Linked DNA regions of Homo sapiens: regions 1, 2, 3, 4, 5 and 7 are each linked to region 6. Evidence: promoter capture Hi-C in human tissues and cell types (Jung and others, 2019). All regions are on one chromosome and are shown on one strand. The core of a region is centred on a gene start or on the middle of the fragment in contact, and the rest is flanking DNA. Distances in the headings are between cores, read along the strand shown.

Region 1 (3,648 bases), core at 417-2,916, 730 kb before region 6:
TTTTAGATTTATGCATTAAAAATACGATTTCTACTTCGAAGAGATCACTTTGTTACTTTGTAGCTTTTAAGCTGATGCCGTGAACTTATTTTTCTTCTAAGATAAAGTCACATCTATAGATTTTTCAACTAATTACATGTCTGCCAATAAATACTTAGAGGATACATTTTATTTCAATTTATTATTTGTGTTTACATAGTGTGTCCCTGGAAATATCTGTGGAACTGAAAGGAAATGTTTTAATGGTGTTTGCTACTACTTTTTCATCCTCTCTCTTCTGTCTCTCTCTCTCTCTCTCTCTCTTTTAATAGCTCCAGTCAGCCCGGTCAAGCATGACAGCAACTCAAACTCGGCAAACTTCCAAGACGTGGAGGACATGCCTGACAGATGTGCCTTGGAAGAGTCTGAGAGTCCAGGTGAAAGCCATTTAAAAATAGTCAAGTATAAAATGATAAATTTGACACAGCTTTGGGGTCCTTGGAAGGGGGTGAGGGGAGAGGACATTGTAATGCTGTTTTCTCTTAGCAGCTGCACTGTCAAATTAATGGTCACCTCCAGGGGTCACAGTGTGGAGCTGTTATCTTTTCCTCTTTCATCAAGAATTCAGTTGGAGGAAGTACAAAGGCTTTATGACTGAGAAGGGAAGCTGACACTATTAGTTCATTATCATCAATTTTAGGCTAAATGGTTAATAGAGCCAGAGATTGGAAACTATAGAGAAATGGCAACATTTTAAATATTTCAAATAATGGAAACTAACAAGAGGGGAGCGGAAGTGGACAGACGGGGGTGAAAAGAGAAACTGTCATCATTACAATTCTATTTACCTTTCTAGAAACAAACAGGACTGTAACTGGGATGACAGGATTTTAGCATGATGGTAATGAATACTGTCAAATGTTTAGGGAAAATAAAGTCTAGAAAATAGTAACCCTTCTCTCATGCAATAAAAGCTTTTCTTTGTCAAAGTTACATATTTGTATATATCCTTTATAGAAATAAAAGAGAAATGTACTAGAAGGATACAGCTAGAAACACTTATACAAGGATTTCTGTTTCTATTTTTGTTTCATTTTGAAACACGCCTAGCCTTAACTAATTAATTAGAATCAAAAAATCTTGTAAAAGTCGAATGAACATTCCTGGATAAATACAAAGTTATAAGGTGCTAGAAGGTACCTTATTATCATGAATGAAAGAGTTAAATATCTCCTCCACTTAATATTTGTGATTCCTGTTTTATCTGGCTCCTGTGTACCCTCTACCCTCTCACATCTTTGTGTGCTGATCCATGTATCATATTTTTGATTCATCCTCTCTGTGGCCTGTCAGCTTAGTTAAGAGATTTCCAAATCTTGTAGCCTTTGTTGACAGGGGGCAGCTGCAAACAAACAGTCCCCTGATCCTTCCCCAAGGAGAGTTACTGAGATTTAATTTTCAGTGAAAGGTGCAGCCTGCAATCTATGTCAGGTCCCCTAAGTCATCTCGGAACCCCAATAGGCGCAGTGGCGATGGCATTGTATATCAGTCCTCTTCACTCCACCAAGATTCCTCTGAAGATGGACTGCTGCCCTGTGCCTGTTCTCAACCACACTTCTGCTTTCAGATCCCATGGAACTGAGAAATGGCATCTTTAGCAGTGACAGAAATGTTTAATGAGCAAATTAACCCCACCCCTTGCCATAATAGCCAAAAGAAAAATGTAGATGAGTCTCACTCTAAAAGGGAGAGGGTAAATAAATGGTAGTGTTAAATTTCTATAATAAAAATTATTTATCCATTACTTTTAGTTTTGACTAATGTTGCCAAATTTTTATTAGGTTTTAAAAGTGTCTTAATACAGTTTTCTATTACTCATTTTGTCAGACAGGTAAATCTGTGAATCAGGTTTTTACCTAAATGTCCATTGTTTTTGATAAGAATAGATCAGCTTTATATCATTTCAAAAGTAGAATAAATTTCCATCATCCCTTAATATGAATGGAATGGGAGCGAGATTCAAATATAACATTCTCTATCTGATTGATACACACAAACGTGTTTATCAAGAAAGAAAGATTAATTAGAAAATATAGGTGCTGATAAAGAATCTTAACTCAAAAAGTGAGTACCGTTCTATACATCGGACATCATTATGCTGGTAATAAAGAATGAATTACTCTGGCTTTTTCCTCTGTCCCTTCCTGCATTTTAAGACATCTTGCCTTATAGGCCTAGAAACCTCTGGAGAGTTCACTACTGGTCTCACTGCCTTCCACTGAGAATTTGTGGCTTGGTTGTCATGGAGACATCGTATTTCTCCAAGAATTGCTCATATTGATCCGTGGCCAGGAGTAAATGGCCAAGCCAGTGTGAGGAATAAAGGGGGCTGGGCAGTCCTATAAAATGACCAGGGCTTGTGGGTTGGAAATAAGCTCATAGCAAACACTTAGCTAAAAAGAAAGAAGCAGTTTTATTTTGTTTTAGGATTTCTTTCTGCACTTTGGGCCATTGTCTTCTTTCACTGTGAACTGAAAGAAACTTGTTAGTCACTTGTCATGTCAGATCTTTGGTGCTTGTCCTGACACAGCTGTCAGCCTTCCAGCTCTGTGCAGTTCAGGGACACACAACAAAGAGGCAGTGACATGAATTATTTATTGCTCCTTGTGTGGATAAAATTCTGTGATAAGAAATTAAGACACTTCTGACAGAGGTGCTTGTTTAGTAAGAAAGATTTTGATGAGAGAGTGTGTTTCCTTGAAGCATGAGTATTCGATGGGCAAAATTCTTAAAATTGAACATGGAGGAAAATAAGTTTTATGTTTCTCGTGTGAATTTGGTGGCAGAGAGGGATGTTCTTGAACTATAAAAATATGACTTTTCACTTTTCAAAGCCCAAACGTTAACTTCAAAATATCAAGTCTTTCAAAATGTAGGGGTTCCAAAACCATAAGCATTACTCTAGTGGTTTAGTTACCTCTATTTACCACATGTGAGTGGTGTTTCTCTGGAAAATATTAACTACCTCAGTCAGAAGAAGAAACAAATTTGGGGTTTTTAGGTGGTGAGATTTGGGAAAATGTCCTCGAACCAGAAGAGGTGCTTCAGTAGCTAAACTTACAATTGCATTAGTGTATTCCTTAGTCACTGTATGGAAAAGAGTGCATTTAATTCTGAATGCACATTCTTACCATTTTCAACTGGAATGTTTTCATTCATTTAAAATTCCTTTTAACATTTTTATGTACCTGCAAAATCCCCCAGTTACAAAGCTGAATGTGGTCAATCTTCTAACTTTAATGGATATTGAACTTACATGGTTTTATCTATGCAATGCTAAATGACTAATATAATTATTACATCATTTTAATGAATAGCTCAGTTGTTTGAACAGCATATAGAAAATGAAAAAAAGTATTTTCCATGCAAACACAGTTCAAGTATATTGCTTTGTATATTGTTCATTCCACATAAATTCTCTTCTTTGCAAACCTTGTAAACATCATTTTACTTTAAACTCTTCTGGTTTTATATTGTGAATACGAACGTATTTTCATAGGCAGAAAGCAAAAGGGACATTGAAGCACAGAAAAAGTTTTTGGAAAAAGTGAAGTTGATATTTAGATGTTGATAGAGTTTTAAAATGTCATTAACAAAGCCAAGTTGCTT
Region 2 (3,301 bases), core at 589-3,088, 940 kb before region 6:
GTGTGTGTGTGTGTGTGTGTGTGTGTGTGTGTGTGTGTGTGTTTTACATCTACCTTTGTTTTACACCAGTTCCTCTAATTCGACTCCAGTACCACAGGGATCATTCAAGTTTTTTCCTTTCCATATTTCTAACTCTTTTTTTCTAACAGTAAGAAATCTGATTCCTGTTATAAATAAGCAATATACTAATTATTTGCCATCAGTCTGTTATGTAACCAATTTCCTGTAAACGTGCTACCCTGTCCTCTGTGTGGATGCCCTCCTGATCATTTTCTGGCTTTAACACTTCTTGTGGACCTGTCCACTGCCTAATATGTGAAAATCCTGCTTATCCCTGTATTCCTTTACTACATCTGATTACATTTTCAGGCAGCAACTTTTCTCATCCTACAAGTGCTCTCAGGATGCTCAACACCCCTCAGTGTGCATGCCTTCCTATCCTCCTTGGGCTTCAACACTTTGTGCCAGACCATCCTTGTAAATTGATGTCCTCCTCACCCTGCCCAAGCTCTGGCCCCTCACAGCAGGGCCACTTCCTTCACTGTCCTCACCCCTGTTAGGCTCATGACACTCCTTGTTGAGGAACCTCATTATGTGAGCTCCTTTCTCACTTGTTCCTGCTCCAATACCCAGTGCCAGACAGCCCTGTATACATTACTCCTCTTCACCCTCCTTGGAGGCTGCACCTTACATGCAGCTGCCCCCACATTTGGACACCTCACTCACCATCCCTGGCCTCTGACTCCACTGTCTTCCTATCCTGATGCCCTCCTCATACTATTTGAACTCCAACACTCCACTCTTGCTCTGTTCTATTAATATTCCATGGCTTTAGGACTGAATTAGCAAAGAAGGGAAAGGGTTCTATCATTTTTGGAGCTTATATTAGATAAATATTGGGTCTTTTCACTTAGCATCTATATCTCTTAACATCTCTGATTTATCTTAATGTCTCTGAATTCTTTTTACTCAACATTTTCATTTTTTTTTAATGACTTCTTGCTGTATTCTGGGAAATTTCCTGAAAATTGTATTCAAGTTAATTATTCTCCCTTCACTTGGGTCTATTCTGATTTGTCCTTTTGAGATTTGTTATATTTTAACGATTATGTTTTATTTCTAGAAGTAATATTTGTTTCTTTTAAAAGTCTACCTTTTGTAGGTTTTTTCTTTGGGTTTTTAATTTCATCTTTTGTCTATTTATTGATTTATAATAATTTATTATATTTGTTCTTCTTTTGAAATATGTTTTAGATTGTTCACTTATTATTAGTTCCTGGGGTACTAATCTTTCTGTTTGCTCATGGTTTATCTTGAATGTTTTATAATTTTTTATTGTAAGATTATTTGCTACTGGGGCTAATTGTTTTACAGAAATCTCGTTCACTCTTGATAGTGAGAGTGTCTTTCAGAATGCCTTAAGTACAACATTAAACAACTTTATTGAAGTATAATTGACACACATAATATTTGTGTGTATACATAAATGCATTTAAAGTATAAATTTGATTAAGTTTTGACATATGTATACCCTCATGAAACCATTACCATAATTAAAATAATGAACTTATCTACCACCTTCAAAACTTTTCTTACTCCCCATTGTAATGTCACTGTTCCCTGTTCTTTCTTTCCCTGAGCAATCACTGACCTATTTCTGCCAAACTGTTTTCCATTGTACGTTCCCCCCGTCAGTGTATGAGTTCCAGTTGCTGTACATTCTTCTTAATACTTGTCATGGTCTTTTTTTTCCCCCCTGTCTTGCTCTGTAGCCCAGGCTGGAGTGCAGTGGCACAATCTCAGCTCACTGCAACCTCCACCTCCTGGGTTCAAGTGATTTCCCCACCTCAGCCTCCCGAGGTAGGATTACCAGTGTGTGCCACCATGCCTGGCTAATTTTTGTATTTTTAGTAGAGAGGGAGTTTCACCATGTTGGTCAGGCTGGTCCTGAACTGCTGGGTTCAAGTGCTCCACCTACCTCGGCCTCCCAAAGTGCTGTGATTACAGGCCTGAGACACTGCGCCTAGCCATTAACACTTGTCATGGTCTTTTAAAAAAATTTAGATATTCAAATAGGTCTGTAGTGTTTCTGACAAGCCTCCCAATAGTATCATTGACCTGGAAACAATTTTTTATATATAATTATTATAAAAGTATTATACATAACTCCAGAATCCCCATGTGAAGAAATTCATTCCGGAATTATATATAATATTATTATTTTTTTTTTTTAGTCCCAACCCATTTGTACTTCAGGCTTGACAGATTTTTCTTGGGAGATTTGGAAATACTCTTTCTTATCTTCCTGGGGTAGTTTTTCTGTTCCTCTTTCATTGAGCAAGGCCACTTCTGAGAGTTTTGCTTCCTATCCTTACATAGGGATTAATATGCAAACTCCTAGCCAAAAAGCCACATACTAATTTAGTTCTAATACTTATTGTACTGGTTTTCTGGTTTCTCTTAGTTTTTCACTGCTTGGGATTTTCCAGACTTATTGATAAGCTTGGTCAGGAAGCAACAACTTAAAAATAGGTATAATGCATTTTTCTCTGTGTTTGAAGCAGAAGAAGGTCCATGTTCTGGTTACAGTATTATTGAAATCAGAACTCTCTGGGTAGCTTTGTAGTATGATTAATATGTATAATCCTGGTATTCAGAATTGCAATGCTCAGAACATTTCCTGTAGAAACTTTGGCTTCATGGTGTTTGGACATGGCAGTTAGAATAATGCAAGTGTATTATAGACTAGATAGACTAACATATTGACCTAAGAAGTGAAAATGGGGAACTAGATACTGAATTCCAGACAATGGAACTACAAGGAAAATTTGTGTTCATAGTGTCAGTGCACACCCATGTTTATGTATATATTTGTGTGTGTGTGTGTGTAGACATATAATTGAACATTAGAAATAACATGTATCATAAGTTTTAAAAATTTATATTGGTATTTACACTTTTGGTGGTTTAGCAACAGAAATCCTGCAGGACAGAAGGTTTTCATTTTCTTGACTTTCTCAAAGCAATGTGGGAAGTATGCTTGGCCCCTTTCTCCTCTCTTTCGGACATTTTTAATGGGATTAAATATATAATGCTAAATTGTCTCCCAAAATTGTTTGTGTTTCAGGAAGGAATGACAATTTGGGGAGAATATTTAACTCAGTGTTTCACAAAATATAATGCACACATCACTGAGTGATACTTTGGGTGGTCATAGATAACATTTTTTGATACTTATGTATTCATTTTAACCCTTGTAACTAACATATGAATGTAGTAATTTCATAAAGATTATTGTTTA
Region 3 (3,416 bases), core at 860-3,359, 540 kb before region 6:
GTTTTTGTCTATCTCATGTGCTTGGCACAGTGTATCTGTTTATTCTTTTTCTACCTTTGTCACTACAATCTACGTCCTATCCCAGACACTGATACTGTCCTCCTTTCTCCTTCTCTACACCACAAAACCACTCTTAAGGTTTGTCTGGACTTGCTCTTCCACTTCCTTTCTCACCCCCTACCCTACATCCCTTTCTATCCTAAGTCGTGTAAGTTGTGTGTTTCTTACCCCCAATGAAACTGAACCCTTAAAGGCATACCATGACTTCTAAATCTCCTACCTGCCAAGAAACTCAGTGCTAAATCTAGTGCTCAACTGCAGCACTTAACTCACTTCTAGTGCCACCTTCTAGTTCATTATTGAGCTGTCTTCTTAAAATGTTTATTTCAGTTCTCCTACTTAATGTGTGTTATAATCTTTTAAGTATCTTCAAATACATTTTGGGAAAGGGCAAGAAATAACTACTTGTTACCAAAGTCACTGAGTCCCGTGGTTCCTTCTCAGCTCGCACCCACCTCTGCCCTTCTCTAACTTTTGATGCTGCTGCTGGCTGTCACATGGAAACACCCTCCTTGTTCCATCTCTGTCATGCTCTGTCTCTACTTTCTTTGCTCTCTCCTTGTCCTGCCTGAGGCAGACACAGTTCCTGCCATTTGCCCTAGTTCTCTCTTCCCCTTGTTTCTACTTTCTTTCATCCCCACCCCATTCTCTCTCCAATGGATGTCCCACTCAGTGCCATGGTTCAACTAGGACTGAGATGTCAATGACATGGGTGCCAGTTCAGGCTCAAGCCCCAGGACTACATTTCCAGTGGCCTCTTCAACAGTTCTTGGAAATGCTATGGGTACCCCAGACTTGATAGATCTAAAATTTTCTTTCATCTTCTTCCCATCCTCTTCATTTTTATTAATGACATCACCAGATCCTTGGTCTCCTAGATTTCAAATTTCAGAGCCATCTTATACTCCTTGCTTTCCATTATTCCATAATCCATTAATAGCCAAATGCTGCCAGATCAGCATCCTCCATGTCCCACATTTGTCTCCTCTTTTCTATCCCCTCTGCCTCTGTCCTAGCTCCAACTCTCATTCGTGCTTCCTTCCCTATATCCCTGCTGCAGTCCCCTATTTGGCTTCCCTGCTTCTAGTCCTTCCCAATGCCAATATGGTTTTACACTGTGCCAGAATAATCTTCCATAAATACCTCTCTGACCATATGACCCCCTGTTCCTATACCTCTGATGCCTGCCCAGTGCCTAGAGAACAAAGGCCAGATGACTTGGCATTCCAGTCAAGACCCTACAGGATTTGGGCACCAAGATCCTTTTCCTTACTGTCATCTATTTCCCCTGCCTTTTAGTTCCAGAAAACTCCTTGTCCTTTCTCTCTTCCTTGCCTTGATTCATACTCTTCCCGTCTCTTCATCAATACCTAACCAGTTTTCAAATGCTTCCCTGCCTAAATCTTTCCTAATCTCTCTAGCGAGACCCATCTTTCTCATCTGTATTTTGCTAAACCTTTATTAACATTTGGTATCAGTCTTACAGGGAACTCATTTTTTTTAAAAAAATTCCTATATGCTGGGCTATGTGTTTCACATTTTGTACTTTTCAATGTTTACAATTCCATGAAATGGGTTTATTAAAACCATTTTGTAGATGGAATAACAGGTTCATAAAGCCAAGCTACATGGGCAGTGAAGCACAGTGGCTCTTCAGACCATACTCCCTACACTCTTTACACACCAGATAACCTCTTTTAAATAAGTATTCCACTTCGTCCTCCCTTAAGAGCTACAGAAATCTAAGAGAACTGATATGACTACTTAATAGTGATAAAGTAGCTCTGTCTTTGGACTGTCCTAGTCCCAGTTCTTTGTGTGGCTTTTCTCCTTTTAGACCCTCTTCTGATATTTGGTTACTATTGCCTTTTAAAGGTTTCATTATTATGCATAATGTATTCATCGAAGGGCAGCATTTCCTGTAATTTATGTCTCTTCATTTTACTACTCAGCAATTCCTCAGTATTTAACCTCATAAATTTCCAGTTATTGTCCTATATTTACACATTGCATCTGCTGGAGAAGTCTGTGCAATTTATTACTACGTGGAAGCTAAAGGGACACAAAGAGGGCGAATCTTCTGCTTATGCCCCTACTATCTAAGTCAGATTGCTCATGATTAGGAGCAAATAGTCTCACCTACCTCCACCCTTTTGCATTTATCTTATTAAATAACATAAGGGCCAAATTTCCTTGACTTTCCAAAATCATCTCCTATCCATCCCTGGGACCCTGAACTGCTGGCCTCAAAGCCCATTTGAGCTGTCAGGCATTTCCTATGCTGTACCTCTCAGTTTCCTGGGCTGCCAGATCCTCCTCCTCTGAAAGGTCAAACAGTACTAAAACCTCACCTCATCTGGCTCTCAGTCCCCTTTGTTTCTCTTATATTGTTCTGCCATTGCCCTAAAGCCAAAAGATCTTTGGGGCAGCGGCCCTGTTTGGTGTTTGGCACAATTTCATTTACTGAACATCTCGATGTACATTTATGATGCCATATAACTAATAATAAAAACAGGACAGCCTAGGGCATCGTTTTTTATTGTCAGCTCCGTGGCAGCTGTGGGGGATGGGGAGGCAGAGGATAGAGAGTGCAGGAATGGTGCAGGACTCCCCAGGAGAGGCCAGTCCTTGCTGAGCCCATTCTGCAAGCCACATTCCTTCCCAAATGATCCAAACCTTGTCCAGACCCTCTCAAAGAGCCATTCCAAGCTTTCTGAACACTCTGCAACTGTGCAGAAGGCCAGATCAGAGGCTTTTGTGCACTACCAGGGAGGTACCTAAGCTGTGCACCCCACTATTTTTCAGATGGCAAGTTTGCCCACCTTTAGGCATGTGCAGAATGGATGACAGCAGAGCTCACGCAGATCATCACTGCTTGTTGCTAAATTGACGTGGCTGTCCTCGGATGCCATCAGCTGTGCAGTAATCCATATTAATAGCTGGGCTTCAAAGTAGCCATTTGTATGCTTTGCCTTTCTCTGTGGCTGTCTACTCTTTGTGAATATGGCCTGGATGGTATATGCCCCCGATCCTCTGACTTGGACTTCAGCATGTTGAAAAGGCTATTACTAGGTTTTAGAGGCAAAAACTTGCTCTTTGAAAGTGTTATTAGAAGGCAGCATAGAATAATGGAAAGAGCCTTGACTCTGACATTAAATGGCCTGCCTTGTGTTTCAGGTCTGCCCTTTACTAGCTGTGTGATTTTGTGTAAATTACTCAACCTCTCTGAGCCTCAGTTTTCTCTTCTGTAAGTAGAGAGAAGAGAATAATTCTACCTCACAAGGTTGTTTAAAAAATTCTGTGTAGTCTCTTTGTATATTAAAGTAAATGTATACATTATTTGCTGAAAAGTGCTA
Region 4 (3,253 bases), core at 235-2,734, 860 kb before region 6:
GTTACCTCTTTAAAATGTGTTTCTATTCTGTTTTTTTAATGACTAATGCACTGGATGGTATTTTCTGGAAAAAAATGATGTTTGTAGAATTCAAATGTTAACTCAAACTATTAGTTGCTTATAACTGGAAAGAAATGGAGGAGAATAAAATCTTTCTTGTTGAAAGCTGGTAATACCACTTATTGACTGAGAGTACCATGTGGACCCATTTAAAGCAATCCCAACAGGAGCACTACTTCTGTACCAATGACTTATGTTGAAACTGGCCCTAAGAGAGTAGCAAATGCAAAAAACTAACAGGAAGCAATTCTCAAAAAAGAAAGCATTTATTTTCATGGAATATTTCCCCATACTATTAAAAACAAAATGTATTAAGACTTTATCTTTATTTATTGGAACTAAGAGCATGAACTTATTAAAAAAATACATCCAGCTAACGTTCTTGCCCATTTTTCTGAATTCTGTTTTAATAGTGATGCCCTGAAGGCACCACCAGTTCTCTGCATCTCCAAATGACGTTTATTTATTTGTAATTTTTTTCATACTATATAGCTTATATAATTCTGCAAACAGCTTTAATCCTAAATTAAAATATCCTGCATAATCTTTTGGTTCAAGTGTGATTATTCCTGTCAGATATAAAAATGATCCTAACAAGCTGCTGTGAGCAGCAGGGGCTTTCTTATGCACATATTTAACTCCATGCACAATCAAATGGGACTGAAAATTGTAGTTGTTCTATGTCTTCGCATATTGCCCAAAACCTGATGACTTTTAGAAAGCCATTAAGAAAGCTTACAAAGCTGGGCACCATGGCTCACGCCTGTAATCCCAGCACTTTGGGAGGCCGAGGTGGGTGGATCACAAGGTCAGGAGTTCAAGACCAGCCTGACCAACATGGTGAAACCCCGTCTCTACTAAAAATACAAAAATTAGTCAGGCGTGGTGGCATATGCCTGTAATCCCAGCTACTCAGGAGGCTGAAGCAGGAGAATTGCTTGAACCTGGGAGGCAGAAGTTGCAGTGAGCCAAGCTTGTGCCACAGCCTGGCCCACAGAGCAAGACTCCATCTCAAAAAAAAAAACTTACAAAATGCAAAGTCCTGCTCACCTTCATTACTTTCTTCTGAGCTCCCACTAGAGGTCTCTTGTCGTTATATAAAACGTGGCCTTCTCCATTGATTCTCTGGTAGCAGATGTTTTGTTTTCCTTTTTCTTGTCTCTCAGGCCAATCTCTGTTTTACAACAACCATAGCATGACATTCATCATGTAATCAGATGGCAAAATATGGAAAGAATAGTATGGGTCCTTTCTCTTCATGTGTGATTATCTTGAGGCTCAAATGAGAAAATTATTTGACAGTTGACATCTCCCCAAATCTAAGAGGATACCTGAATCTTGAACTTTCACAAAGTTTTTATTATATGATTGTCAGTCCAAAATTGTTAATTACCAAGGACCTATCTTTTATTAAACCAGATCAATTATAAAGTCAGGTTGATAGATGGTAACAAATTGTCTTTAAGATCTCTTTTTTTTTTTTTTTTTTTTTTTTTTTTTTGAGATGGCATCTTGCTCTGTCACCCAGGCTGGAGTGAAGTGGTGCGATCCTTGCTCATTGCAGCCTCTGCGTCCCAGGTTCCAGCGATTCTCCTGCCTCAGTCTCCTGGGTAGTTGGGATTACAGGTGTGCACCACCACGCTCAGCTAATTTTTGTATTTTTAGTAGTGATGGGGTTTCACCATTTTGGCCAAGCTTGTCTTGAACTCCTGACCTCAGGTGATCCACCTGCCTCGGCCTCCCAAAATGCTGGGATTACAGGCGTGAGCCACTGCACCTGGCCAAGATCTCTTAAGCGTATCTTTATTTTATGACTTTAACATTTATGTATGCTAACGATCAGCTTAAAATATCTTGAGGCATATTTTTAGTAATTAAATTTCTGGTGTTAACAAGGATGGAATTAGTAAGATAGAAGCAGAAAACTAACAGTTCTGAGTGTGTTTTGTCAAAATTTTCACTTTTTATGATAATCCAATTAATCATGACAAATTATGCCCTCAATATACATCTGATTTAAATGGTCTACCTTCTATCTTAATCAAGATAGCTACTGAGATTAGTTACAGAAAATTCAATGAGCTGCATGGTGAGGAAGTGTCCATATAACACACAGTACCTCAGATGATGGTTTGCTTCACTGTTCTTGTGCACCTACCGCAAAGGCCCAGCTATGGGGCCACAACTTGATGTTTTTTTGCCTTCATCTAATGTTCTACGTCCATTAATTCTAGGACCAAGTTCTTGTATTTTAAAACATTGAGTTATTATATTTTATCAGACTTCAGTTTTGTAACAGGAAATAATTATCAAAATCTGTTTATCTTTCACTAATTAATAAAATCTAAGGATATGGGCCCTTACTTCTCTATCTGTATAAAGGGTATAATAAATGGGTATTTAATTCACAGACAAATCATGAAGTATAATGGGACTAAGTAATATAATCTACGAAAGTCTCGTTATGTATGAATGATACATCATATCTCTTAAATCTTTTGCAGCCCTCTTGTGGTTACCTGATGTCTTCTTGATAAATCATTTAGTATGGTTGCTTTTGATTCTTGTTTTCAGGATATACTGAATTTCATTCAGCATGAACACATACATCATATTATAATTAAAAGTTTCTTCACTTGAGAATTAGAGCAGGTTTTGTCAGTAGTTTATGAGTGATACTTGGGAAAGAACTCTAATTGATTTTTACTATCCACTGGTAATTTTGTGTTGATTTCCAGACTGGGTATATTTAAGCATAATCAAAACCTAGGAAATATCCTCTTTAATATTTCAGAATGTTCATAAAATTCAAATTTCTATTTAGTACTATTATTTTAAAATATATTATATCTCCTAAACTAGGAACTCTATTATTTTCTTAGCAAGAGTATCTTTGGAGTTATAAATTTGATTTTGACACTTATCATGTGGGGCAGGGGATGTCCCGTAAGGTTTACACATATTCTTCAGCCATAATAATTTCCAGTCTATTGAACTCACATAACTGTTTATGAAATATTATTTTCAGCTTCCACAAGCATGACAGAAAGAAAAGAAACTAAGAATGAGCATTCCATTATTATTAATCTGAGTTGCATTCATTCTTGTGATAAAAACCCAAATCAAACATCATACATTAAAAAAGATGAAAAACGTCAACTACAGGTTCAGTCCCATGACCCAGATATTTAAT
Region 5 (3,196 bases), core at 283-2,782, 810 kb before region 6:
ATGGGGGTTTGCAGTACAGATTATTTCATCACTCAGGCATTAAGCCTAGTACTCATTAGTAGTTTTTCCTGATCCTCTCTCTCCTCCCACCTTCTGTTCTTCAGTAGGTTGCAGTGTAGGTTGTTCCCTTCTACGTGTTCAAGTGTTCCCATCATTTAGCTCCCACTTATAAGTGAGAACATGCAGTATTCGGTTTTCTGTTCCTGTGTCAGTTTACTGGAGGATAATGGCCGCCGACTCCATCCATGTCAGTGCAAAGCACGTGATCTTGTTCTCTTTTATGGCTGCATAGTATTCCATGGAGTATATGAGCCACATTTTCTTTATCCAGTCTACCATTGATTGACATTTAGGTTTATTCCATGTCTTTGTTATTGTGAATAGATCTGCAATGAACATACATGTTCATGTGTCTTTATAATAGAATGATTTATATTCCTTTGGGTATATATCCACTAATGGGATTGTTGGGTTGAGTGGTATTTCTGTCTTTAGGTCTTTGAGGAATCACCACACTGTCTTCCACAATGGCTGAACTAATTTACATTCCCACCAACAATGTATAAGCGTTCCTTTTCTCCACAGTCTCTCCAGCATCTGTTATTTTTGATTTTCTAATCTATAATTTTTTGACTTCAACATTCTGACTAGTGTGAGGTATTATCTCGTTGTGGTTTTGATTTGCATTTCTCCAGTGATTAGTGATGTTAAGCTTTCTTTCATATGATTTTTGGCCACATATATGTCTTCCTTTGAAAAGTGTCTGTTCATTTCCTTTGCCCATGTTTTAATAGAGTTTTTTTTCTTGTAAATTTGTTTAAGTTCTTTGTAGACTCTGGATGTTAGACTTTCGTAAGATGCATATTTTGCAAAAATTTTCTCCCATTCTGCAGGTTGCCTGTTTGCTCTATTGATAGTTTCTTTCGCTGTGCAGAAGCTCTTTAGTTTAATTAGATCCCATTTGCCAATGTTTGCTTTTGTTGCAGTTGCTTTTGGCATCTTTGCCATTAAACCTTTGCCTATGCCTATATCCCGAATGGTATTGCTTAGGTTATCTTCCAGGGTTTTTATAATTTTGTGTTTTACATTCAAGTCTTTAATCCATCTTGAGTTAATTTTTGTATATGGTGTAAGGAAGGGGTCCAGTTTTAATCTTCTGCATGTGGCTAACCAGTTATCCCAGCAACATTTATTAAGTAAGGAATCCTTTCCCTATTGCTTGTTTTTGTCAGGTTCACCAAAGATCAGATAGTTTTAGGTGTGTGATCTTATTTCTGGGTTCTCTATTCTGTTCCATTGGTCTATGTGTCTGTTCTTGTACCAGTACCTTGCTGTTTTGGTTACTGCAGCCCTGTAGTATAGTTTGAAATCAGGTAACGTGATGCCTCCAACTTTGTTCTTTTTGCTTAGGATTGCCCTGGCCATTCAGGCTCTTTTTTGGTTCCATATGAATTTTAAGATAGTTTTTTCTAGTTATGTGAAAAATGACGTTGATAGCTTGATATGAATAGCAATGAAACTGTGAATTGCTAGGCAGTATGGCCATTTTAATGACGTTGATTCTTCCTATTCATGAACATGGAATGTTTTTCCATTTGTTTATGTCATCTCTGATTTATTTGAGCCATGGTTTGTTGTTCTCCTTGTAGAGATCCTTCACCTTTCTAGTTGGCTGTATTCCTAGGTGTTTTATTCTTTTTGTTGCAATTGTGAATGGGAGTTCGTTTGTGATTTAGCTCTCAGCTTGACTGTTGTTTATAGGAATGCTAATGATTTTTGCACATTGATTTTGTATCCTGAGACTTCGCTGAAGTTGCTTAACAGCTTAAGAAGTTTTTGGGCTGAGATGATGGGCTTTTCTAGATAGAGGATCATGACATCTTCGAAAAGGGTAGTTTGACTTCCTCTTTTCCTACTTGAATGACCTTTATTGATTTCCCTTGTGGAATTGCCCTGGCCAGAAATTCCAATACTGTGTTGAATAGGAGTAGTAAGAGAGGGCATCCTTGTCTTGTGCTGATTTTCAAGGGAGAATGGTTCTAGCTTTTGCCTATTTAGTATGATGTTGGCTGTGGTTTTTTCATATATGTCTCATTATTTCGAAGTATGTTCCTTCAATATCTTCTTTATTGAGAGTTTTTAACATGAAGGGATGTTGAATTTTATTGAGAGCCTTTTCTGCTTCTATGGAGATAATCATGTGGTTTTTGTCTTTAGTTCTGTTTATGTGATGAATCATATTTATTGATTTGCATATGTTGAACCAAACTTGCATCCCAGGGATCAAGCATACTCGATCATGGTGGGTAAGCTTTCTGATATGCTGCTGGATTTGGTTTGCCAGTATTTTGTTGAGGATATTTTCATTGATGTTCATCAGGAATACTGACAGGAAATTTTCTTTTTTTGTCATATTTCTGCCAGGTTTTTGTATCAGGATGATGCTGGCCTCATAGAATGAGTTAGGGACGAATCCTTTCCTTTTCTATTTTTTGAAATAGTTTCAGGTGGAATGATAATAGCTCTTCTTTGTATATCTCATATAATTCATCTGTGAATCTGTCTGGTCCTGGGCTTTTTTCGGTTGGTAAGCTGTTTATTTAACTGCCTCAGTTTCAGAACTCATTATTAGTCTGTTCAGGGATTCAGTTTCTTCCTGGTTCAGTCTTTGAGGGTGCATGTGTCCAGGAATTTATCTATTTCTTCCAGATTTTCTAGGTCACGTGTATATATTACTAGCTTATAATATTCTCCGAGGATTGCTTTTCTGTTGGGTCAGTGGTAATATCCCCCTTATCATCTCTGATTGTGTTATTTGAATCTTCTCTCTTTTCTTCTTTATTAGTCTAGTGAGTGATCTATTTTATTTTATTTTATTTTCCAAAAACCAGCTCTTGGGTTTGTTGATCTCTTGAATAGATTTTTTTGTGAGTTATCTCCTTTAGTTCAGCTCTGATTTTGGTTATTTCTGGTCTTCTGCTGGCTTTGGGATTTTTTTGCTCTTGATTCTCTAGTTCTTTTAGTTGTGAAGTTAGGCTGTTAACAAGAGATCTTTCTAGTTTTTTGATCTGGGCATTTAGTGCCATAAATTACTCTCTTAACCCTACCTTAGCTTTGTCCCAGAGATTCTGGTATATTGTATCTTTGTTCTTGGTAGTTTCAAAGATCTTTTTCATTTCTGCCTTAATGTCATTTA
Region 6 (3,627 bases), core at 399-2,898:
TTAGGATGTTGCCCTGGTGGTAGCAGGGACCTGGGCAAAGAGATAGGCCTACTCATGCCTGGGCCGGTGGGAACTTTTCCCAAAGGGTTGGCCAGCCCAAACTTTTGCCTTGGAAACCCAACTACCACCACTACCACAGCCTTGGCCTCTCTAAGGGCTTGGGAGCATTTGCAGTGGAAACACCACGGGTGGGCTGCAGTTCGGTGCCCCAGCAAGCAAACCTACAGTCTGAGTCTGGCCCAGCACAGGCTACACACACTTTATTCCATATCTGAGTCCAGATACCCCGGCTCTGAGAGGCTATTCTCATTGTAACCACCGCTTGCCTGGGGCTGAGGCTCGGCGCTGACCCGGCCATAACTGCCACGGGCTGGACAATGGGCACATCTGTCCTTTCTCTGAGGGATGAAAGCACCTAAGCGGACACGGCTCTGCCTTTTGTTGCGGATTTTTTTTCTTTCTTTTGTAAATGAAAGAAAGCCGCGGCATGTGGCGGCCGGGTGTACGTCTCAAACTGGGGGCCTCCGCACACGTCCCCACCAGGCCCAAAGACCAGGTTCGATTCCAGATTGGAGCGTGACTGTGGGAAGGGCGAAATTACTCCCGAAGCTGAATTGATTTTCAAATCTGGAGGCGTCTCTCGGGGACGCCGGGAAAAGGGCGTCCCTAGGGGCCAAGCGGAGACCCGCGCGCCGGCGTCCACCCTGTCTGCGTCAGTACTTCTGGAAAGCAACCGCCTCCGGGTGCTTTAGCAGGAGGGCCTTGGGAGTAACCGCAGGGACGGCCCGAGCCTCCACGGCCCCACCAGCACCCGGAAGTTAACATGGGTACCCTCCAGGGCACTCCCTCCGCTCTCCCTCGCCCCCCTCCACAGGCCGAGTCATCGGCGAAGCGGACGCACAGCCTTAATTATGAGCTGAGCGGGAGAAGGAGCCAGGCGGCGGGGGACAGTGAGGTATGGCCCGAACTGGGATTCTTGGCACTGATTACTCCTCTCCCCAGGGCATGGATGAGAAAGGGTGGGCAAGTATGTATCTGGGAGGACGAAGGGTGCCGGGTCAACGGCCGCCAAACGGACCCAGCCCTTTAAGCAATCTGCACCCCACCCCACCCCAACCCCCATCCCCCAATAGGCCGTGAATTCAAGGGTGGGAAAGCGCACTCCCAGCAGCCCCCCGGGAAATAAAGCTTAGTGGGCTAGAGCCGAAGGGGTGATGACACAGTCCCCAGCTCCCCGGGCAAGCTGCACCGGGAAGCAGCAACTGGAGAGAGAGGGGCGATGTCTCCAAGCACAGCACTCCAGCCGCTAGAAGCCCGACACGAGCGTCCCCGGGCTGGGAGGACAGAGCCCACTCAAGCAAGGGAGGCGAGCGAGCCAGGCGCGAGTCTCCTGGGATTGCAGCGGCGGCCCCAGGTCGCGCTCTGCGCCAATCTTTCGCACGTGCCCGCAGCTCCCTGGCCATCCAGCGCCGCAGGGAAGGCGCTGGGCCCCCTCCTTCATTTGTACCGGGACGCCAAGGGCCTGGCGCGCCGCGACCTAGGGGGCGGGGGCGGGCCTCGCGCATGCGCGCTGCGCCTGGCGGGCGTGAGGGCGGGCCGCTGCGGCGGCGGCGGCGGCGGCTACCGAACCGCGGCCACAGAGTCTGTAACAGTAACAGAGCCATGGCTCAAGCTGGCCAGCGGGGCGGGCAGGCAGCAGACGCGGCAGGCGCGCGGGCCGCGGCAGGGGAGCCGGAGACCTCAGAATTTTAAGAAAGAGAGGGGCGAGAGGTGGCCGAGGCGGGCGGGCTGGGGCACTGCGCTCTCCCAACGGCGCGGATCCTCTTTGGAAATTAATATTAAAAAAAAAAAAGCCGAGGACGCAGAGGGGAAGGTGGGGGGTAAGAGGGAAGGCGAGACACACACACACACACACACGCACACGCACACACGGACACACACACACGGAGAGAGAGAGAGAGAGAGACAGAGCCCCACAGTGAGAGGAAGGAAGGCAACAGTCGCCAGCAGCCGATGTGAAGACCGGACTCCGTGCGCCCCTCGCCGCCTCTGCCTGGCCACATCGATGTTGTGTCCGCCGCCTGCTCGCCCGGATCACGATGAACGCGCAGCTGACCATGGAAGCGATCGGCGAGCTGCACGGGGTGAGCCATGAGCCGGTGCCCGCCCCTGCCGACCTGCTGGGCGGCAGCCCCCACGCGCGCAGCTCCGTGGCGCACCGCGGCAGCCACCTGCCCCCCGCGCACCCGCGCTCCATGGGCATGGCGTCCCTGCTGGACGGCGGCAGCGGCGGCGGAGATTACCACCACCACCACCGGGCCCCTGAGCACAGCCTGGCCGGCCCCCTGCATCCCACCATGACCATGGCCTGCGAGACTCCCCCAGGTATGAGCATGCCCACCACCTACACCACCTTGACCCCTCTGCAGCCGCTGCCTCCCATCTCCACAGTCTCGGACAAGTTCCCCCACCATCACCACCACCACCATCACCACCACCACCCGCACCACCACCAGCGCCTGGCGGGCAACGTGAGCGGTAGCTTCACGCTCATGCGGGATGAGCGCGGGCTGGCCTCCATGAATAACCTCTATACCCCCTACCACAAGGACGTGGCCGGCATGGGCCAGAGCCTCTCGCCCCTCTCCAGCTCCGGTCTGGGCAGCATCCACAACTCCCAGCAAGGGCTCCCCCACTATGCCCACCCGGGGGCCGCCATGCCCACCGACAAGATGCTCACCCCCAACGGCTTCGAAGCCCACCACCCGGCCATGCTCGGCCGCCACGGGGAGCAGCACCTCACGCCCACCTCGGCCGGCATGGTGCCCATCAACGGCCTTCCTCCGCACCATCCCCACGCCCACCTGAACGCCCAGGGCCACGGGCAACTCCTGGGCACAGCCCGGGAGCCCAACCCTTCGGTGACCGGCGCGCAGGTCAGCAATGGAAGTAATTCAGGGCAGATGGAAGAGATCAATACCAAAGAGGTGGCGCAGCGTATCACCACCGAGCTCAAGCGCTACAGCATCCCACAGGCCATCTTCGCGCAGAGGGTGCTCTGCCGCTCCCAGGGGACCCTCTCGGACCTGCTGCGCAACCCCAAACCCTGGAGCAAACTCAAATCCGGCCGGGAGACCTTCCGGAGGATGTGGAAGTGGCTGCAGGAGCCGGAGTTCCAGCGCATGTCCGCGCTCCGCTTAGCAGGTGAGCCGGCCAAGGAGCTGGGCGCGCGGGAGATAAGGTACACGAAAGCCGAAGGGACCAAAGGAGGAAGGGTAGGAGAGAGGGCTGGGTGCGCTTCATCCCGCCCGCCCCTACCCCTAGAAGGGGGACTCCCTGTGCCTGGAAGGGCCAGCACAGGGCTGTGGGAGCAAATTGCCTACTCCAGGGCTCAGGGTGTTGGGCTGTGGAAGGCTCCGAGAGCTAAGCGGCCGGGCCTCGGCGACTGAAGAGGCTCATTTGCGCTCAGGGACAGCGAGGGAAGCTCGTACGGCCTGAGGCGGAGAGAAATCCCCGCACCTGGTGAGACACTCTGCGCCACCTCTCAGTTCAGCGATCCGGGTTTGGGAAGAGGGATGCAACGCGTGCGTGGAATCGCACGCAAATGTTCCTCGCAGGTACCTCTGA
Region 7 (3,218 bases), core at 242-2,741, 580 kb before region 6:
TCGTGGTGCTCACTACAAAGCAAGAGAAATTTCTAAAAGACAGTTCAAACTAGAGCATTAAGAACAGAGACATAGGGATTACCCTCACGGGAAATGCCATTGACCAAATCCTAGAAGTTGGGAATAAATGATAGTATATGAAATGAAAGACTTAGACTTGTGCAAAGTAGGAGCTAAACCTTAAAATTCCATATAAAGCTAATACACTTGAAGGTGCTGCAGATTCATGATGATGGCTAAACAAAAATCTGTGTGGGCAAAGTGAGCCAACAAGGAATCTCATCTTCACAAGAAAATAAGATTTCAAAGATAAAACTTCAATAGGAATTCCAGAATAAAATAAACAGCTTCACTTCAACAAATTTAAAATGTGTACAATTTGAAAACACAAAAAAACACTTCTAGAAAAATATACTTAACGAAATGTACTGAAAAAGAAATTTAAAAAATTAATATTGACATTCCCATTAAACAAACTCTAGGCCCAAAACATATTACAAATAAGCTTTAAAAACTTTTAATAAACAGATTCTTGCAGCTATATGCAAATTCCTCCAGAAATTAGAAAATAGAGTGAAAACTAACCCCTCATCTTCTTTTGTAAAAATGATATAGTCTTAATGTCAAAACTTGTCAAGGACATTACAAGAGAGAATGGTTACAGGCCAATTTCATTTATAAAACATAGATGCAAGAATCAGAAACAAAATATTGGGAAATGGAATTTAGCAATATATTAAAAATATAATAGATCATTACCAAGTTGAGTTTGTTTCAGTAATTCAAGATTGGTTTAACTTTAGAAAAATCGATTAGTGTAATTCACTATATTAATAGATAAGTAAGAATAAATGATTTGAGTAGATGCATAAACATTTTATAAGATTCATGATAAAATTATTTTTAGTAAATTAGAAATACAAAGGAACTCTGTTAACCTCACTAACAGAAAACTACAAATATTATCCTAAGAATTCTCTTGAATATCAGAAATAAGACATATGTCCAGAGACCCTGCTTCCATTCACCATTGTCTTCAAGATCCTAGCAAACATGGTAAAACAAGAGAAATAAATAGGAAATAAAAACAAGAGAGAAAAAACTCTCATTATGCACAGATAATATAATTGCCAATATAGAAGCTCCAAAAATTCCACAAAAATTGTTATTATGAAGAAGAGAGTTTAACTAGTTGGGTAGACATAAATTACTACATGAAACAATTATATGTTCATATACTAGCAACAATATATATATATAATTTATAATAGCAACAAAAAGGGTACCTAAGAATAAATATAATGAAAGATTTCCCAACTGTTAGAATATATAATAGTATTTTATTTTAAAATGTTAGCTTATTCTATGTTTTTATAATCTGCTCATAGTGGTTACCATAGAAGATATATATATATCCACATAAGATATTAAATATCCATATAAGATATTAAAATTACTATTTTGTACAATCAGTATTCATTTAGATTTACCCACAGGTTTATCCTTTTTAGTGTTCTTCAGTTTTTCCCATATATTCATGTTTTCCTCTGGGACCATTTTTCTTCTACCAAAAGAATTCCCTTTAATAGTTTCTTTTTCTTTTTAATTAGAGTTATTGATATATAATTTTATGCAATAAACTTTTACAAAGTTTAAGCGTGTTTTTTCAAAATGATAAATGCTCTCAATTTTTTGTTTTGCAAAAACATCTTTATTCACATTTATGTTTGAAGGATATTTTCATCGGCTATATAATTTTAGGTTGGCAGTTACCTTCAGAACTATAAACTTTTTTCTTGCTTCCATGATTTATTTTGAAAAGTCAAGTATCAGTTTTATTGTTGCTCCTTTGAAAGTAATGTCATTTTCTTTTTCTCTGTCAGCTTTAATTATTTTTTTCTTTTCATTGCTTTTTAGCAATTTAACTATTAAGTCTATTTTGGTATGCTTTTCTTGTTAAACAGCTTGGAGTCTGTAGAGCTTCTTAAATCTGAGAATTGATGTTTTTCAGTTTTTTGAAAATTTATAGCTAGTATGTCTACCAATATTGCTTCTGCACCGTTTTTTTCTCTCATTCTAAGGCTCCAATTATACATTTGTTAGACATAGATACTGTGGCATTTTTTAATACTCTTGTTAGTTTCTCTGTACTAAAATTTTTTTCCTCTTTGTCCTTAAGTATGGATATTTTATATTGATTTACCTTCTGATTTTACAAATCTGTCTTCTTCTGTGTCTAATCTCCTGTTAAACCCACCTATTCAGTCCATAATTTCAATTATATTACTACAATTATATATATTATATTTTAATTCTAGAATTGTCATTTTTAATAGGTTCAAACTCTTTGAAGAATTCCTCTATCTTGTCATTTCTTTTCTTGAGTTATGAATCACAGTTACTTTAATGTCGGTGTCTGAATTATCTGATATCTCTATTGCCTATTGATCTACTTCTGTTTTCTCTTCGTTTTTTGGTCATTTGATCCTGTATTCTTCTATGCCTGTTAATTTTTTTATTGAATACCAGACATATACAAAATTATAGTGATAACAAAGCTCTGGTTGCTGTTATCTTTTCCCAGAGAAGCTTTTTACTTTTAAAGTGCTGGTAAATAGGAACAGATTGCCTTATTCCATGAGTGGGACTGACAGAGCTTGTTTGAAGTTTGGTCGTGCTCTTTTCTGTGTGCCAGTCTATTACTAAAATATACTAAAATATAGCTTTTTAAGGATTCTTAACTGAAAGTCTAGAATTAATAACAGCACTCTTCCTACTTATCCCACCCTCACCTCCAATTTGTGTTTCCCCAGCACCACAATACTGAAAAAACTGTATCTCAGCTTCCTAACCACCGAACTATCACTTTTTGCTCTGCTTTTCTCTCGCTCCCAAATCCCTTAAAAATCAGCAAATTCCTCAAAAGGCACAATACTGTAGAATATCTCACTTTGTGGGCTTTCCTACTCTGAAATTTTTTCTTCTTCAGTCCTGGCACCTTTGAAAGCTGTCTGATGTGTTCTCTTTGAATGGATGTTCTCGATATTTTGTCTAACTTTTCTAGTTGTTATTGATAAGAAGATTGGTTCCTGGAAAGAGAATCTATCATTAGTGGAAGTCATTAAGAAATACGTATATTTTAATAAAGCTGGAATCATCACAAATCCGTACTGATACTTCTAATTCAAATTCAGGAATACAGTACTTTTACTTAACCT

The links. The method cuts DNA at HindIII sites, captures the fragments that hold promoters and counts their contacts. A contact is called where the count stands out against the background at its distance.
Region 1: a contact is called between a fragment that was not itself captured here and the fragment with the promoter of ONECUT1 in region 6, in 2 of the 25 tissues and cell types used here (dorsolateral prefrontal cortex and spleen).
Region 2: a contact is called between a fragment that was not itself captured here and the fragment with the promoter of ONECUT1 in region 6, in 1 of the 25 tissues and cell types used here (dorsolateral prefrontal cortex).
Region 3: a fragment that was not itself captured here is called in contact with the fragment with the promoter of ONECUT1 in region 6 in 2 of the 25 tissues and cell types used here (H1 embryonic stem cells and spleen).
Region 4: a contact is called between a fragment that was not itself captured here and the fragment with the promoter of ONECUT1 in region 6, in 3 of the 25 tissues and cell types used here (dorsolateral prefrontal cortex, liver and mesendoderm cells).
Region 5: a fragment that was not itself captured here is called in contact with the fragment with the promoter of ONECUT1 in region 6 in 2 of the 25 tissues and cell types used here (dorsolateral prefrontal cortex and mesendoderm cells).
Region 7: a contact is called between a fragment that was not itself captured here and the fragment with the promoter of ONECUT1 in region 6, in 2 of the 25 tissues and cell types used here (dorsolateral prefrontal cortex and mesendoderm cells).

The regions. Positions count from the first base shown.
Region 1 is chr15:53,519,986-53,523,633 of GRCh38, reverse strand. WDR72 (WD repeat domain 72) reads left to right here. Exons shown (of 20, transcript NM_182758.4): 19 at 312-416. The region is part of intron 5 of LOC105370826 (a long non-coding RNA gene); the gene reads right to left. Among named protein-coding and RNA genes, the nearest start is that of WDR72, 240 kb to the left of the region's middle. The HindIII fragment of the contact is 7,774 bases long and covers 1-3,648 here.
Region 2 is chr15:53,733,740-53,737,040 of GRCh38, reverse strand. All of the region lies in intron 1 of WDR72 (WD repeat domain 72), which reads left to right. Among named protein-coding and RNA genes, the nearest start is that of WDR72, 24 kb to the left of the region's middle. The HindIII fragment of the contact is 3,948 bases long and covers 1-3,301 here.
Region 3 is chr15:53,324,775-53,328,190 of GRCh38, reverse strand. No RefSeq gene overlaps it. Among named protein-coding and RNA genes, the nearest start is that of LINC02490, 210 kb to the right of the region's middle. The HindIII fragment of the contact is 5,329 bases long and covers 1-3,416 here.
Region 4 is chr15:53,653,539-53,656,791 of GRCh38, reverse strand. All of the region lies in intron 14 of WDR72 (WD repeat domain 72), which reads left to right. Among named protein-coding and RNA genes, the nearest start is that of WDR72, 100 kb to the left of the region's middle. The HindIII fragment of the contact is 4,562 bases long and covers 1-3,253 here.
Region 5 is chr15:53,602,244-53,605,439 of GRCh38, reverse strand. The region is part of intron 17 of WDR72 (WD repeat domain 72); the gene reads left to right. Among named protein-coding and RNA genes, the nearest start is that of WDR72, 160 kb to the left of the region's middle. The HindIII fragment of the contact is 3,426 bases long and covers 1-3,196 here.
Region 6 is chr15:52,788,357-52,791,983 of GRCh38, reverse strand. It overlaps ONECUT1 (one cut homeobox 1), which reads left to right and starts at 1,648. Exons shown (of 2, transcript NM_004498.4): 1 at 1,648-3,204. The coding sequence starts at 2,100. It overlaps LOC105370824 (a long non-coding RNA gene), which reads right to left and starts at 1,554. Exons shown (of 2, transcript XR_001751550.2): 1 at 1-1,554. RefSeq lists enhancers at 1-592, 593-1,361, 1,358-1,652 and a silencer at 1,541-1,610. The HindIII fragment of the contact is 12,558 bases long and covers 1-3,627 here.
Region 7 is chr15:53,368,676-53,371,893 of GRCh38, reverse strand. No RefSeq gene overlaps it. Among named protein-coding and RNA genes, the nearest start is that of LINC02490, 250 kb to the right of the region's middle. The HindIII fragment of the contact is 4,841 bases long and covers 1-3,218 here.